Regions from separate parts of the Homo sapiens genome. Here region 2 is linked to region 1. Evidence: promoter capture Hi-C in 16 types of primary human blood cells and fetal thymus (Javierre and others, 2016). All regions are on one chromosome and are shown on one strand. Each heading gives the region's core, a stretch centred on a gene start or on the middle of the fragment in contact. The rest is flanking DNA. Distances are from core to core; before and after follow the strand shown.

Region 1 (4,209 bases), core at 718-3,217:
GTGGTGGCTCACACCTGTAATCCCAGCATTTTGGGAGGTTGACGTGGGTGGATCACTTGAGGTCAGGAGTTTGAGACCAGCCTGGCCAACATGGTGAAACCCTGTCTCTACTCAAAATACAAAAATTAGCTGGGTGTGGTGGCACATGCCTGTAATCCCAGCTACTGAGGAGGCTGAGGCAGGAGAATCACTTGAACCCGGGAGGCAAAGGTTGCAGTGAGCCAAGATCACCCCTCTGTACTCCAGCCTGGGTGACAAAGTGAGATTCTGTCTCAAAAAATGAAATAAAATAAAATAAAATAAAATAAAATAAAATAAAAGACAAATAATTATACCTAAAAGGCTGGGTACAGTGGCTCACGCCTGTAATCTCAACACTTTGGGAGGCGGAGGCTCAGGAGGATTGCTTGAACCCAGGAGTTCAAGACCAGCAACATAGTGGGACCCCATCTCCACAAAATATTTTTAAAAATTAGCCAGGTGTGGTGGCACATGCCTATAGTCCCAGGTACTCACAAGGTTGAGGTGGGAGAATTGCTTGAGCCTGGGAGATGAGACTACAGTGAGCAGTTATCACGCCACTGCACTCCAGCCTGGGCGACAGAGCCGGACCCTGTATCACTCAGGCTGGGCACAGTGGTTCACACCTGTAATCCCAGCACTTTGGGAGGCCGAGGCGGGTGGATCACTTAAGGTCAGGAGTTCGAGACCATGGCCATGACCCCATCTCTGCTAAAAATATGAAATTTCCCCAGGCGTGGTGGCGCGTACGTAGTCCCAGCTATTTGGGAGGCTGAGACATGAGAATCGTTTGAACCCAGTAGGCGGAGGCTGCAGTGAGCCCAGATTGAACCAGTGCATTCCAGCCTTGGTAACACAGCGAGACACCGTTTCAAAGAAAAAAAAAAAGCACTCAGATTAAAAAACAAAATGAAACACAATACAATACTATATAGTCATGGCTACATATAATTATTAAAAATGGACTGGGAGAACACAAGCTAATTCTAATTCATAATAGTTGCTTCTGGAGAGGATGAGAGGGTAATAGGCTTGAGAGTAGAAAAAACAGGTAAGTTTAACTTTTATTGTATTATCTAGCTTTTAAAAAATAAGCAAATAAATCATAATGCCAGTAGTCAATTTAGGGTGATGGGTGTACAGTATTTACAATATTCTCCGTATTAAGTGTCACAAAATAAAAATGATTATTTTTAAGTAAATGGGATGCCTGTGGATGATGTAGATAATTCCCTGTAATTTTCTGTTGGTCCCAATGTAAAGCTGACTTTTCTAGACGTTCTGTGGGCTCACAGGCCATCCTAGTTCCATTCACCAGACAGATCCAGGCGGACGCCCAGAGGCGTGTGAGCTGGGGCTACAGGCTTGCAAGGTATCGAGTTCACCGGCTGCTGAAAAATCAGTTATGAAGGTATACGTAGGGGTGGGACAGTGAATGGTGTATAAAAAGGAGGGTAAGGCAGAAGCTGGGGCCGCAGGATGTGGGTTAGAAAAGTGTGCCGAGGTGTGTGAACTGGCATGACAGCCTAAGTAAGACGCGGAATGTGGGTGCCCTGGAGGTCCCGCAAGGCTCTTCAGCTCTCAGTTTCGGGAGCTCAAGCCGCACCGCTGCTTTCACAGCTCATCGGGAACAGGCTGCTCAGTTCATTTCCTTGATGGCCACCCTCCTCCCTCTCGGCCACTCCCCTCCCCATCAACAAATCCCAACGCCCCTCACCCGGGACCGTGGACCTCGAGGAGCCACCGTTGCCTCGGATCTCGGACCACCAAACCTATTCTCCCGCCAATTCGGCCTTCTGACCTTCGCCTTCTGACCCCGAGAGCTACTCTTCCGTCTTCCGTAGCACAGGAATGCGTTCTGGGGCTTCAAGAAGCTGCTGTTTTTGAAAATGAGTCCTACCGAGGCAAGATGGCAGGTGCTGCAGCCAGGAAAATACATTTCCGTGTGTTTTAATATTTATTTTCACTCACTACAACTCTTTCGTGGAGGGAGCGGAATTTAAACTTCCGGGTCAGCCTCAGTGCAGCTTGGGAAACGTAGTTCCTAGTCCCCACGTCTCGCTCCTTGGAGCCCAGACTGAGGGAGCGTCGCGAAAGTTGCCCGTTTTGGAACGCTCCCATTTGGCTCTCCAAAGGGAAGAATTGGTTAAATAGTTGCACTGAAAATAATGCGATTCAAATTTCTCATTTTCCAAGAACGCTCCCTTGCTGAAGCTTGCAAGGGCACGGTACTCCCCTCTCCTTGACCCTGAAACGTGCAGCAAGTAGATAACCTCCTGATCCCTGACAGTCTCCGCCTGTGTTGATGCCCCGCCCCCTCTGCTGGAGTCCGAGCCGCCGATTGGCTAGGAGCACTTGAGCAGCGGAAGCAGCTGGCTCGCGCGGGGACTGCGGTGAGGGGGCGAGCCGTGAAGATGGCGGCAGTGGTGGAGGTGGAGGTTGGAGGTGGTGCTGCTGGGGAACGGGAGCTGGATGAGGTAAGCGGAGTTGAGAGACGAGGAGAGACTCAACCTGAGACTGAGGGGAGGGGCAGTGAGGTATCGGGAGGTGGGGGTCTTAGGAGAGAAGGGAAAGATCCTGAGAGGGAAGGAGCTGACTAGGGGGCGGGTGCGTGGAGAGCGAAGTCAGAGGCACTCCTGACTTGGGGACTCCGAGGCGGCCTTGGGAGTAGAAGACTTGCATTAGCCTCAAGGGTGAAGATGGAGGACAGAGAGAGAGGTCGGAGGGGTGGGGGTGTTAAGATTTTGTGATTACTAGCTGGGTGTCTTAGGGTAGGACCGAAGGGCTAAGAGGTAGTTTGAGTTGGAGGGACGTGAATTTCTTCAGGGGAAGGCTGGGCTTCTACTGTGGGAGAGGACTCTGTCTAAGCCTAGGGTGGGGGTTGGGGACACAGACCGGGAAAGAGTGCTAATCCACTAGTAGTATAGCTTTGAGTTATCTTAAAGTTGGAACTGTTTTATTTATCGTTCCATTCTAAGACTTTGTATCTAATGCATGCTCAGTAAAGTTTTGGCCAACGAATGAAGGAACAAGTGGATGAATAAATGATTGTATGCCGGAATTCATGCATTTATTCACTTAATAAACATTATGACTTTTGCTCCGGGTTCTGGGCCAGGTGCTAGGGAGACAAGGGGCCCCTCCGTTGAAGAGCCCACAGTCTAGTGGTGGGAGACAGACAAGAAGACTAGTCATTGCATTAGAGATATAATGGTGGCACTGAGAAGTGTGCAACATTTCAGCTTGGGATAGGGAAGGCTTCCCGGAGTTGCTGAGTTTTAAACGATAAATAAGTGTCTCTCTCTTCTTCTGGATTTATGAGTTCCTTGAAGGTGAGCTCCTTGAGATTGTATGTTCCCTTTACCTATCTAATAGGCATTTAAAGACTGGTGTATTAAAATACCAGTGGTCCTTGAAGGAATCACTAGGAGGAAGGAGATGTTGAGTGTGAAAGGAATGAAGGGACAGGGCAGAGAAGCAGAGACAGAGGTGAAAAGATTCTGAAGCCATGGAGACATTGATAGCTAGTGGTGTTTGTGATCTTGCACATGCCAGCATATGGGCAAAGACATCACAGGAATAGGAGGAAGGGGATTGGTTGTCAGAGATAGAACCAGTGAGATCTCTGAGGGGTCAGAATCTTAGAGGCCCCTTGCTGTGTGTTGGGTGTGGGAAGAGTGGGGAGGATTGGGGATGATTGAAGATGAGGTTCAGAGAAAGGGAGAAGTGGACTTGGGAAGCAATAAGACTGTTGCCTGGTAGTGGGATGAGTTGGAGGAGTTGGATTACCTGATTGGGATCATTAAGGTGGGAGGAAGGGACTGAGAAATTGACAGGTGATCACAGCAGGGGGATTTTTAAAGAAGTGTTGTAGTCTTCTACCTCCCAATCACTAGAGACTACAGGTGTTTGGATACCAGTTGGTTGGTTAGGTGGAGTGGTTGTGGAAATGACCTCCAAGACCCCTTCTAGCTTTTACATTTCTGTGATTACAGTTGGCTGTGGTTCAGTGAGATATATTTGAAGACACTTTGGAAAGGGTAAATACTGTATTGAAGTTCTTATTTAAGGTTTGTTAGTCATGGGCTCTCCCTTGAGACAATTACGTATATCTCAAAGCTGTAGTTACATATGTCAGGGTTCATTGAGATAAACAGCAGAAGTTTTGGCAGAGGAGAAAATAACATT
Region 2 (4,209 bases), core at 1,008-3,507, 520 kb after region 1:
CCAGGGAGCAGCATGCTGCCAGACTGCAGCCTCCACTTCTCCTATTGGTTTAGGCTTTTGAGTGGCACACGAACTGCATATCCAAACACAGCTGCCTGGGCAAAGGACTTGACCAAAGACCTCATGAGAAATGAAATATAAATCATATTTAAATATATGAAAATATGCTCAATACACCCATGACAAGAAACATACAAATTAAAACTATAGTGATCCATATCTTACAGCATATACAAAAATGAACTCAAAATGAATTATTGTCCTAAATGTAAAACCTAAGACTCCAAAATTTCTTGAAGAAAACATAGGAGAAAATCTTTGTGGCTTTGGATAAAGCAGATTTCTTAGATACAACATGAAAAACACAATGCATAAAAGAAAAAAAAAAAGATCAATTTGACTTCATCAACATTAGGAACTTTTGCTCCTCAAAAGCCACTGTTAAGAGAATGGATAAGCTGCAGAGTGGAGAAAATATTTGTAATTATACATCCAGTAAGGAACTTACATCAGAATATGAAAAGAATTCTCAAAACTCAATGATAAGAAAACCACCCAATTTTTATGTTGGAAAAAAGATTTGGAGAGATAACTTCTTACTGTCAAATAAGAACGCTAAAAAACACCCTCAATATCATTGCTCTTTAGAGAAATAAAAATTAAAACCATGAATTATATATGTATTAAAATGTCTAAGATTAAAAAGACTGGCCGTACCACATGACGATGTGGAGCAACTGGAACTCTCATATACTGCTGAAGGGGAATGTGAAATGGTACAACCACTTTTGAAAACAATTTGGCAGTTTCTTTAGAGGTTAAACAAGCATGTACCATATGATCCAGTCATTCCAACTTTTAGATTTATTATCCAAGGAAAACAAAAACATATGCTCACACAAAGACTTGTACATGAATGTTCATAGCAACTTTGTAAAAGCTACAAACTAAAAATATTACCAAAACACCAGGGGTTTGGTCTAGGTCCAGGGAGGGTCCTGCTTCTTCCATATACTAGAGGTTTGGTCTAGGTCAAGGGTTTGGTCTAGGTCAGGGGTGTGGCTTAGGTCAGGCCTGCTGCTCCCCTTTCTTGGTGCTACAGCCTAGAAGATGGGAGCTCAGTCTCAAATCCATCTCCCTGACTGATTAAAACTAGGGGTTTATACATCAGGGAAGAAATGTAACAATGTGTAAAAAAACAGGAACTAGGGAGGGGCAAAGGAAGCAATCATAATGAATGAGGGGTTGTCATCTGGTGCTGTGATCCATTGAGTTTCAGTTCTTTGATACTTTTTCCAGAGGCCTGAAGGTTGTTTCCTGAGGAAGGAACTCAGATAAAACAAATATAAATTTCAAGCTTTAAGATCAGGAGGGTCAATTTCTATGTTTATCAAAAAGAACCATCTTTGGGACTATTGGATTGGTTTCAAAAACAACCTAAACTTCTATCAATACATAAAAGGATAAACAAATTGTGGTATATCCATACAATGGAGTGTGACTCAGCAATAAAAAGGAACTATTGATATGCACAATGACATGGATGAACCTCAAGATATTAATGCTGAATGAAGCAAGTCAGTTCTACAAATAAATAAGCAAGCAAGCAAACACAGACTACACATTGTATTATCCAATTTTATAAGATTCTAGAAAATAAAAGCAAATACTGTATATAGTAACATAAAGCAGAACAGTGATTGCATGGGGATGATAGGATTACAGGGGTAGTGGGAGGAAGGGTTTACAAAGGGGCACAAGAAACTTTTGGAAGTGATGGATATAGTCATCTTGATTGTGGTGATGGTTTCAGAGGGGTACATATGTCAAAATTCATCAAATTTACACTTTAAACGTGAAATTTACTGTATGTCAGTTATACTTCAATAAAGCTGTTTCAAAAAGCTATAATGAGATATAGTTCACCTCAGACTGGCATATATACTGCATGTATTATTACGTATTATATATGTGTGTATATATATATATATATATATAAAAAAAACTGCGTGGCAAGTTTGTAAAGAAAAAACACTCATATTGTTGCTGGAAATGTAAATAGGTACAACTTCAATGGAGGGCTAATTGATAATATCAAAATATTGGAATTTAAAATCTAGATATACTTGCAGGTGTATAAAATGAGGAATGGTTTGAGATATTTGTAAGAGAAAGAGATGAGAAGCCATCTGAATGTCCATCACTGGGACATTGGTCAAATACATTAAAGCTAAACAATGGAATATTTTTTTAAACAGGGTAACACTGTTTTAATATGGAATGCACCGAGATATTTTAGGTACAAAAAAGTTCAAGGCGCAGAACAGTTGTATACAACCACTGGTGTTATTTGAAATATATATCTACTTGGCCAGGCGCAGTGGCTCATGCCTATAATCCCAGCACTTTGGGAGGCCGAGGCGGGCGGATCATGAGGTCAGGAGATCGAGACCATCCTGGCTAACACAGTGAAACCCCGTCTCTACTAAAAATACAAAAAAAAAACAAAAATTAGCCGGGCGTGGTGGCCGGTGCCTGTAGTCCCAGCTGCTCGGGAGGCTGAAGCAGGAGAATGGCATGAACCTGGGAGGTGGAGCTTGCAGTGAGCCGAGATCACGCCACTGCACTCCAGCCTGGGCTACAGAGCGAGACTCCGTCTCAACAAAAAAAAAAAAAAAAAAAAAAAAAAGAAATATACATCTACTTATGTGGTTTTATACCTAGGATATCCCTAGAAGGATATCCATCCCATGTGTATAATAAAAATTGTTGCCCATGGGTTGGGCAAAGTGGGGCTGGAGGAAAAGGGACAGAAGTAGGGAGGGAAGAAGAGTTTACTTTCCACTGTATACTTGAATTCTGTTCTATATGTACATATTACATATTCAATCCAATCAACCAATCCCTATTATTTCTATATCAATATTAACTTTAAACTACTTCTGCCATCAGGTAGAGGGAGTGCTTTTAATTTCATCCAGACTGCCACATTTTTTCTCAAGTAGAGACACTGACATCTTGTGGGCTTTTGGGATAATGCAGTGAAATAGCATTAAAATCAGCATATTCACCATTCCATTCCATTCCACTCCACTCCATTCTTCTCAACAAATTATTTGGCATTCAATGCCTATGCTGGGCTTTTGTCCAACTCTCTAAAGCTTACAAAGTTTCAATAATATTCAGCCTCATTTATTGAGCACCTGTAAGGCATGGGTTACTGAAACTGTAGTCATGAAGAAGCCATGGAGCTCTGGAGGGGCATGCAGACAATAGGCCATGTCAGCAGAGAGTGGTGAGTGCCACGATTGAGATAATTCTGGTGTCCCTGGGAGCACATAGCAAGCCGAGTGGTCAGAGAAGGCTTCCTGAAGGAAGTGACATCTAAGCTGAGCTCTGCAGGAGGAGCTAGAATTGACCAGACGAAAGGGATTACAGTAGCTGATGTAGGGTGGGGCACTTGGAGAATAGGGTCACTGTAGGTAAAGGGAACCCTACGGGCAAATGAGCAGAGGCAAGAGTGCAATTCTTTTTTTTTTTTTTTTTTTTTTTGGCAATGCATGTTTGAGGAACTGAGTGTTCAGTGTGGATTAAGTGTAGAGTGGGAGGGGCTAAGAGGGGATAATGAGGCTGAACCAGAGGGGTTAAGTAACTTACTAGGTTCTCCCAGCAAGTACTTAGTGCACCAAGAATTTGAACCCAGGGCTAAATGACTTAACCATTTTCTCTTATACTCATCATGAAGACTTTGCTCCACGAGCCTTTACTAGACCCCATGCCTACTGCCACTCTGCTTCTTCCAACTGGGCACAAAGCTTAGCCAACTGCTTTCCCTCTCTTGCTCCTTATTTCCCTCTCCTTCCTTCCTTCCACATTGCTTGTTTTCTGCAGCCTTGGTGCTAGGGAGAAGACAGAGAAGGCACTTTGGGTCAGGAGGTGATAATTCAGATCTCAGAGGAACTGTCCACTCTGCTCATGTTGATAGATAAAGCTGATAGATGAAAATGATTCCTGCATCAGAGCCTCTCTCCGTCTCTCCAGCTTAGTAGAGCAGGGTGGGGCCTGGGGTGGGGATGGTGGATGAGCCCTGGCATTGAAAGCTGCGTCTCTCGGTAGTAGCCCTCTGTCTGTTCATGGGCAAATAAATGTGTGTACGTGTTTACTGAGTGCTTACTATGAGCAAGACTCTGCTTTTGCTGCTTATGCTAC

Evidence for each region. The method cuts DNA at HindIII sites, captures the fragments that hold promoters and counts their contacts. A CHiCAGO score of 5 or more calls a contact.
Region 2: a fragment that was not itself captured here is called in contact with the fragment with the promoter of XNDC1N in region 1 in 1 of 17 cell types (fetal thymus); the score reaches 5.1 in fetal thymus.

What each region holds. Positions count from the first base shown.
Region 1 is chr11:71,926,627-71,930,835 of GRCh38, forward strand. XNDC1N (XRCC1 N-terminal domain containing 1, N-terminal like) reads right to left here and starts at 1,968. Exons shown (of 6, transcript NM_001375847.2): 1 at 1,739-1,968. It overlaps RNF121 (ring finger protein 121), which reads left to right and starts at 2,420. Exons shown (of 9, transcript NM_018320.5): 1 at 2,420-2,498. The coding sequence starts at 2,436. XNDC1N-ZNF705EP-ALG1L9P (XNDC1N-ZNF705EP-ALG1L9P readthrough) reads right to left here and starts at 1,968. Exons shown (of 11, transcript NR_172895.1): 1 at 1,739-1,968. RefSeq lists an enhancer at 1,801-2,110. The HindIII fragment of the contact is 13,024 bases long and covers 1-2,233 here.
Region 2 is chr11:72,444,124-72,448,332 of GRCh38, forward strand. No RefSeq gene overlaps it. Among named protein-coding and RNA genes, the nearest start is that of CLPB, 12 kb to the left of the region's middle. The HindIII fragment of the contact is 1,804 bases long and covers 1,356-3,159 here.